2 separate regions of the Homo sapiens genome follow, and region 2 is linked to region 1. The links are contacts of gene promoters, found by promoter capture Hi-C in blood cells and fetal thymus (Javierre and others, 2016). All regions are on one chromosome and are shown on one strand. The core of a region is centred on a gene start or on the middle of the fragment in contact, and the rest is flanking DNA. Distances in the headings are between cores, read along the strand shown. Region 1 holds the start of SHROOM1 (shroom family member 1). Region 2 holds the start of LOC124901063 (a long non-coding RNA gene).

Region 1 (4,281 bases), core at 1,229-3,728:
ACCCACGTCCCTGAGGCCCAGGATGTTACAGATTGCTGGTTAGGGCAAGGATGGGGGTTAGTGGTAGGAGGATATGGTGTTTCCTAAAAGGGAAAGGCAGTACCTACAACATTCCCAGGAGAGGCTCTCAGCAGACCTAGGACCAGAACATCTTGATGTCACCCACCTGGGGGCATTTGTATATGCCTACTAAGCCCAGGAGCTTAGCCCTCACACTTAGGGTTGGGGACCTCTTTTGCAAAGTATTTCCACTCTAAACTTTAGGAGGACAAGAAACTACTCTGAGTAGCAGCTCCTGGGAGGACAGTCCCCTCATCTAGGAAGCCCACCCGACTGCTCAGACATTAGCCCTTTCTCTTCCTACTCTTTCTGAGTCCAGCTTGGGAGCACTAGCTCATGTCACCCATCCTGCCCATTTTGGCTTGCTGCAGCTACAGATGGGGATCACCAAACACAAGATGTTTCCTCAAAAGAGGTCTTGAAAATCTATGAAAATCTATCTTATTTGTGAGTTACTATGTTAAAGGATTCTGAATTCAGCAAATAAAAACAGCTTGAATGGGCAATAAAAATGTGTCTACACATGTGTTTCCTTATTGACTGTAACTTGTTGAAGATGCTTTTGCACTGGTGGCCCTATCAGGTTGATGTTCACGCAGGCTCCTCACAGTGGGTGCTTTGCAGAACCTACCATGCCAAGAGGGCCCAGCTGCTTTGGTGTGTTTTGGGGGGCCTCAGCACAAAACAACAAGGCATTTTCATACTTGTCTGGCTGCAGGGAGCCTCTTGCAGTCCAGCCAGCCCCTGTGGCTGGGGGTAGCCCTACCTTAGGGGTCCCTGCCTCAGTGGCAGTGGTACCTGTGGGCTGGGCTGTTATGCCTGTGCCGGCTGCTGAAAGGGAGTTCAGAGGTGGAGCTCAAGGAGCTCTGCAGGCATTTTGCCAAGCCTCTCCAGAGCAGAGGGAGCAACCTAGACTCCCCGCTAGAAAGACACCAGATTGGAGTCCTGGGAGGGGGAGTTGGGGTGGGCATTTGATGTATACTTGTCACCTGAATGAAGGAGCCAGAGAGGAAGGAGACGAAGATGAGATTGGCCTTCAAAGCTAGGGGTCTGGCAGGTGGAGGCACCAGTCTGAAAGGAGGAGCTGGGGCTGAGGAATTGTCAAGGGGGCCAGTGCTCCTTCAGTCTGGGCTTCATGGTGTCTGTGACAAGTCAGGCAGCAGTTGGGATGTGGCTCTGGAGTTCAGCAGGGGAGGGTAGACCAGGCAAGACCCAGGTTTTTAGTTAGAGGTTACTGGGGAAATAGCTGAAGACAGTTTCCGGTGGATAAAATCACACCAAGGCAATGGGAACAGATCCAAGTAAGGCGACCGAGGAGGCACAGGAGAACGGACAGCCTCAAATACAACGAATGATCAGGATTTACATCATACCTCCCTCAAGGCCACCTCACATCTGACCTCTCTGTGGAGGGGCTATCCAGGCCGCCCCTCCCAGCGGGTCTTCCCTCAGTACTGGGCTCACTGTGTAGGCGCTGTCTCCCTGTCAGACTGAGTTCCTGGGTACTGGACCACGTCTCAAAACCCAGTACCCGCAGCTGGGTCTGGCTAGGCGGACGTTCTGGGAAGTTCACCGGCTCTCCCTGTCCCCAGCGTCCCCCGTTCTCCCAGCCTGTCCGCGCTGACAGCGCACCCCACGCAGCATCCACGCTCCGAGTGTGCGACTGGTTTACGGGCTCATCGGTCGCTGCACCCCAGATGCAGAGTCTCTGGAGACCCGAGCTCCGTGCCATGCACAGGAAATGCAGGAAGCTGGCGACACCCGGGGAGAGGCGGCCGCGGGCGTGGACAGACCCGGTTACCTGGGGTTCAATCTCTGGGAGCCGAGGCACGGGAGGGAGAGAGGCGCAGGCCCCGGCGGCCGCAGGGGGCGGCAGAGACACGCGGAGCGGCTCGACAGCAGATGGCCGCAGCCCCGCGCAGTTCTGGGCCTTTCCCGTTGGGTTCACCGTCGGGGAAGGATCGCGCGCAGGGGACAGCGCGAGCCCGGGAGGGAAGGACCCGGCTTCTCCAGATGCTTGGCGACAAAGGGCAGGAGCGGAGGGTGGCGGAGTGAGACCGCGCTGCCCGCCGGCGCCACACGCGGCGCGCCCAGCCGCGCCCCTGAGCCGCGCCGCCAGCTTAGAGTGGGCCGCCTCTCCGCCCTGCAGCTCTGCAGCTGGGAGAGGCGCGCTGGGGTCCGACTCCACTGGCGCAACCTGACGCGGCGCCGAGCCAGACACGTCCCGGCCGAACGATGCCCGGGCTGCCCCGCGACCACCGCCTCGCCGCCCGCTCTTCACCCCCGTCCGCCCGCAGCCCCGCCGGCCTCCCGGGGGAAGCGGACCCAGCCGCCCGCTTCCCGCTCCCCCGCCCCCGCCGCGTACCTGAGGCTCCCGCCGAGACGCGCTCCTGGGCCGTCGCAGCCGCGCGGTGACATCAGAGCCCCGGGCTCTGACTCCGACCCCACCTCCAGGCTCCGGCCGCGGCCTCAGGGGAGGCGCCACGTCCGGCCGCGGGGGCGGGAGCCGCAGCCTCTTGGTAGCGTCCGCGCGCCGGCCCAGTCCCAGGTCTGAGGGTGGACAGTGCGTTCCCGCGCGGGCCACAGGCCTCTTGCCCCAGGCCGGAGAAACCTGAGCGAGGTGGTGGGAGGGCGACTACGGCGACCGCCCACCGGCCTCCAGCGCGTCCGTGATGCTCGGGGGCCGGGTCCCTCGGGGCCTGACACCTCCCTCGGTGGGGAGGTCCAGGGCGGGCCCTTAGGCGCCTGACGGCTACCCGCTTTCCCCCCCAAGCCCGGCCAAGAAAACAGAGCTGCCAGGGCCTCGTGCCTCCCACCTGTCCCGCTGAGTAACTCGGCCCTTGATCAACTCTACCCCCAGACCCCCATTTCCAAAACTCTTCCAGCTCTTTGACTCCCACCATGGGCTCTTGTCTCCTGTTCCCTGTCCCATTTCTTTCCATTTCTCCCACTACCCAGCATGGTCTGGGCCCTCCAGCCTGCTACCGGGGTGGGGGAGAGGGGGGCGGAGCACGGGGAAGCCCCTGGACTTGTGTGCACCTTAGCTGTCCTGAGTGTGTCCTTAGGGAGCTGGACATATGCATACCCACTAAGGCTGGACACTGGCGCTCGAGGCCCTCACCTTCCAGGATCTCCATTTTCCAAAGAACGCTCTGCCTGCACCTGCCACTGAGCTCTCCTTGCTGTGTCCTCAGGCTCCCCTGCCCCGACTTCCCAAACTCTGTCCTATGAATACCACTCTGCCAAGAAATGCTCCGTTCCTGAGAGGGGCTGGGGACCCTTTGATGAGCCTCTCCGGCTCTCAGGTCTCTGCCTTTGTCCTCCGCTGCCCTCCCGCTCCCACAGGATCAACAGGGCTGGGCTCAGGGGCTGTGTCCTCCCATGGTAGTATCCCTGGCAAATAAAGGTTTATTGGTGTTAATAACCAGGACTCTGAACTCTGGCCAAGAGTCAAGGTTGCCACTTCCTAGGGACACTGGGAGCCTGAGGAACTCTGTCTTCTTGGGTCTTCTTGGGTTCGGAGGCAGGAGACACCTGAGCCCGACTTCTGAGAGTGGTGCCCGCTGGGCCCTGCTCCTTCTTCAACACCATCTGGACTCAGGCACCAGCTTCAGCTGGAGCGCTAGGCTTTAAGACAGTGCCTAAGAACCTTTCGGCTTTGAAAGACTTTTGTTGTTTGTTTTGCTTTTTTGAGACAGAGTCTCCCTCTGTCGCCCAGGCTGGAGTGCAGTGGCCGGATCTCTGCTCACTGAAACCTGCGCCTCCCAGGTTCAAGCAATTTTCCCTGCCTCAGCCTCCCAAGTAGCTGGGATTACAGGCACCGGGCACCACGCCCAGCTAATTTTTGTATTTTTAGTAAAGACGGGGTTCGCCATGTTGGCCAGGCTGGTCTCAAACTCGTGACCTCAGGTGATCCACCCACCTTGGCCTCCCAAAGTGCTGGATTACAGGCATGAGCTACCGCACCCGGCCTGAAAGACTTTTAATATTTTTAAGACCCTGATCCACAGAGTCTCACAGCAGCATCAAAATAGAAGAAAGACAGCCCAGCAAACAACAACAAAAAATTTTTAATTGCTCATGTTGGCTGGGGCGGTGGCTCATGCCTGTAATCCCAGCACTTTGGGAGGCCAAGGTGGGCAGATTGCTTGAGCTCAGGAGTTCGAGACCAGCCTCGGCAACATGGCGAAGCCCTGTCTCTACAAAAATACAAAAAAAAAT
Region 2 (4,281 bases), core at 1,782-4,281, 550 kb before region 1:
GAGAATCTAACGTCTGATGATCTGTCACTGTCTCCCATCACCCCCAGATGGGACCATCTAGTTGCAGGAAAACAAGCTCAGGGCTTCCTTCACCATACATTATGGTGAGTCATGTAATTATTTCATTATATATTACAATGTAATAATAATAGGAATAAAGTGCACAATAAGTGTAATGTGTTTGAATCATCCTGAAACCATCCCTGCCCTCCATCCATGGAAAAGTTGTCTTTCACAAAACCAGTCCCTGGTGCCGAAAAGGTTGGGGACTGCTGTCCTGGAGGGCACCTGCTCCCTCCTGCATCCTCAACCTCAACTCACTCAGTCAACTAAATATTTATTAAAAGGTCATGCACAGTGGCTCACGCCTGTAATCCCAGCACTTTGGGAGGCCAAGGTGGGGGGGATCACTTGAGGCCAGGAGTTCAAGACCAGTCTGGCCAACATGGCAAAACCCCGTCTCTGCTAAAAATACAAAAATTATCCCGGTGTGGTGGCAATCACCTGTAGTCCCAGCTGCTCAGGAGGCTGAGGCAGGAGACTTGCTTGAACCCAGGACGTGGAGGTTGCAGTGAGCCAAGATCACGCCACTGCACTCCAGCGTGGGTGACAGAGCAAGACTCTGTCTCAAAAAACAAAAATACCTATTAAGAACCTTCTATATGCCAGGCATTGTGTTGCACCCTAGGAAAACATTTTGAACGAACATGTAAAATAACTACAGGCTATAAGCAGTGCTATCAAGGAAATAAAGAAGGCATTACAGTAGAGCATAAGGGATTCTCTTCATATATGGAATCTGGAAAGGCCTCACAGATAAGGTAACATTTGGGCAGAGAACTGAGGTGGTAAGATATCATCTGTGCAGGTATCTGGGGGGATTACATTCCAGGCAGAGGGCACAGGAAATCCTAAGGCCCTAGGCAAGCAGTGACTGAAGTAGTATAAGTGAGGTGGCTGGAAGTAGTAGATGAGGTCGTCAGAGAGATGTGAGGGAGACAAGGCTGTGTTGGCCCTTGTGAGCCATTGTTCCATGGATAGCAGGACTATGCAAACCCAAAGGCCGAGAGAGCTGAGAAGCCAAAGAAAGAGGTTGACAAATCCATTTTCTCAGAGAGAAATATATAAGAGGGACTTACGAACAGAAGTGATGTCTCGAGTGGCTGCAAGACTGAATCCTCACACCAACCAGCCTTCCAGAAAGTATCCTTTATATAGCAAGCTCTTAGGGTAAAACATGTGCAGCTGGTCCCGTCTTCAGACTTTCTTGCCAAGACTCGTGACCACTGGAGAGGTTAAATAAGCATCTTTATGAAGAGTTTTCTATTCTACAGGCATTGTTTAAAGATCTTGCTGATGAATATCTTGGCATCTAGGGGTCAAACATTGGTCATTACGGTGGTTTTGGATCAAGTGGCCTGGAACAGTGGCCCACACCTGTAATCCCAGCACTTTGGGAGGCCAAGGCGGGAGGATCTTTCAAGGCCAGGAGTTTGAGACTAACCTGGGCAACATAGCGAGACCCCCTCTCTAGAAAAAATAAAAATGAAAAAAAAAATAGCCAGCTGTGGCGGCATGCACCTATAGTCCAAACTACTCAGAAGGCTGAGGTGGGAGGACCCCTTGAGCCCAGGAGTTCGAGGCTGCAGTGAGCTATGATCTTGCCACTGCACTCGAGCCTAGGCAACAGAGTGAGACCCTGTTAAAAAAAAAAAAAAGCATCATTCTTGCCACGCAACAGGCTGTTCTCCTACAGCCATGGTAAGGACTTTGACTTTTACTCTGAGATGAAAAGCCAGAGGAGCGGCATGACCTGGAATTATGTTTTAACTAGGATCACATTGTCTGCTGTATGGAGAATAGGCCCTAAGGGGCAAAGGTAGACGCAGTAAAACCAGTTAGCAAGCATGACTGCGTTCATCCCTAACTAATTCCAAACTAGCCCACTCTCCCCAGTCCAGACGCCACTGTCTCATGCTGAACAGTGTAAGGGCCTCTGCCTTGTCTCCCTGTCTCCTGCCTGGCCCCTCCCTCAATCCTTTCTCTACATAACAGCTAAAGGAGGTTTTTCAAGTGCAATTCCCTGTCAATCTTGCCTATTATAGTTTCCATGGCTCCTCACTGCTCTTAGGACAGAGTCTAAATTCCAAATCCCAGCTCACAGGGCCACATGAGGTACACAGCCCCTGCTGGCCTCTGTGGACAACTTGTGCCTCTGTAACTCTCATTGTGCTTATCTGTAAGTTCAGCCCCATCAAACTCTCCTCAAGACTCTTGCAGGCTTCCTTGACCCTCCAAGGAGGTTGAAACACAAATGGAGTCCTTTCTGGTTCTCTGAGTGACAAGCTTTGTTATTTGATACTTTCCTCCTAGAGAACCAAAGAAAGGGGTGAAGGTAGGCGGAGCCCAGATGCAGCTTCAAGCCAGCCCTCCCTTCATGGCCAAGGACTCAGCCCCTCTAGGGGGTGTGCTAGCTTGGCCCTGGGCTCACAGCCCTTGAACTGCTGAGTTGGATGGGTGGGAGCAGTGTTGTGACTTGCACAACACCATGATGCCCAGAAGCCTGGGCTGTGGGCCCTGAGTCCCTCTGCCCCACCTGGGGAGTGCCCCACCTCCCCTCCACCTCTGGGTGCCCCTGTCCAGCTACGTGCACTCCAGTGCTATCCTGGACAACTCATTCTTACCCAACTTCTTGTCTTGCACCCCAGGCCGACCCCTGACTTGCTTTTCATGTAACTTCCTGGTTTATCATTTTCTCACAGAATAATCTGTCTTTCTAACAACATTCCCACAGCACCTCTGAATGGAGGTGGAACCTCTAAAAAGGTTTAAGGGTAGTGAAGAGGTTTCTCTAATAAGCAAGCACTGTCCTCCTGTGTCCCCTCTACCACAAGTGGGAAACTATTTGGGTCCCTACAGAAACCAAACCTCAACTTTGCTAGTGTCTGACATAGATCCATTTGTGGCTGGAATGCAGAGACTAGAAATCCCAGGAGAGACTGCTAGAGACCTCACTGGGTCCTGCAGGGTCTGGAGTCGGTCTCAGCCATGTGGGCTCAGAAACCGCATTAACCAGCCCTTAAGTGGGTCTGTCAGGCCCGGTGAGCCAAGCTCAGAGGCTGATGCACCACCCCCGACACCCACGCGCGCGCGCGCGCGCACACACACACACACACACACACACACCAGCTTCACTGACAATGGCTGCAGTGCAAGAACACTCAGCTGCCATCCAGGGTGTTCTTGGTCTGTAATTGAATTTTCATGGGAAGCTGGAGCACACCCACAGTCTCAGAAGAAGGGAAGGGAGTTGGATAATAACTATTATGGGAGCTAATGTGTCCCAGGCCTTCATCTCCAAGCCCTTAGTGAACGATATGATTGTTTTTAATCCTCATACCAACCAGAAAGGAAGTATGGTTATTATCCCCATTTTATGGATGAGCTCAGAAAGGTTAAAAAACTTGCCAAGGTCACACACACCCTAGCAAATCTCCATGGCAGGGGCAACCAAAGTAACGGCGCATACCAGTCTTCCATGGAGAGTGTTGCCTGCCTACCAATGGTTTAGTGACTCTGACCAAGCCATTTCTGAAGGGTGCTGATCTGTTTCCACTTGGCAAGTCCCCAGAACAGCCCAGAGTGCAGGCTCAACCTTACCAACTTTTTGCATGGGGCATGGAATGGTGGAAGCTGGACAAAGTAAAGGTGACCCCTGAAGCTTTGGATCTGAGTGTGGACAAGGCTGGTGCCACAGCACCTGATCACCAACTCTGATATGCATGAACCTACCACCATGCCTGCTTGACTCACTCGTCTGGTCATGATCCCGGCTAAATGGGTCATCCCCACCACTCACTGACCCTCCGTGGTTCCAGGAGCCTGCTGAGAGACAGCCTGGACTGGCCCCTTCCCAGCCCCCAGGGCTCTCTCTCCAATTGCTGGAGACTGTCTCACCACCCAGAAAGAGATTTCTGGGTGGAAGAAGTCTCTTTCTCCTCAGTCCTGTCACCCTGTGCCTTCCCAGCCAGTGTTCCTGTCCACTCTCTTGCCTGCCCCTGAGGCACCACTCCTCAAGGCCCTGTCCTAGCTCCTCCATTCCTCCCCAGATGCTCATTGTCTAGGGTTGTTTGTGCTGTTTGCGCTGTCTAATAACCACATCCCTTCTAAACTGTCCCTACCCTCCTTTTGTGCTCTTACTCCAGCCACACTGGACTTGTTCTGGGAGGACAGTGATCAGAGGCCACCTGGCCCAGTCAAGGAGCCACTCCTCCCCTTCAG

The links. Contacts are between HindIII fragments. The CHiCAGO score rates a contact against its expected background, and 5 or more counts as called.
Region 2: a fragment that was not itself captured here is called in contact with the fragment with the promoter of SHROOM1 in region 1 in 1 of 17 cell types (monocytes); the score reaches 5.1 in monocytes.

The regions. Positions count from the first base shown.
Region 1 is chr5:132,828,169-132,832,449 of GRCh38, forward strand. SHROOM1 (shroom family member 1) reads right to left here and starts at 2,479. Exons shown (of 10, transcript NM_001172700.2): 1 at 2,426-2,479. RefSeq lists silencers at 1,848-2,157, 2,368-2,787. The HindIII fragment of the contact is 14,647 bases long and covers 1-4,281 here.
Region 2 is chr5:132,276,203-132,280,483 of GRCh38, forward strand. LOC124901063 (a long non-coding RNA gene) reads right to left here and starts at 1,548. Exons shown (of 2, transcript XR_007058934.1): 1 at 1,505-1,548; 2 at 1,195-1,286. RefSeq lists a silencer at 1,014-1,308 and an enhancer at 1,969-2,781. The HindIII fragment of the contact is 1,375 bases long and covers 2,345-3,719 here.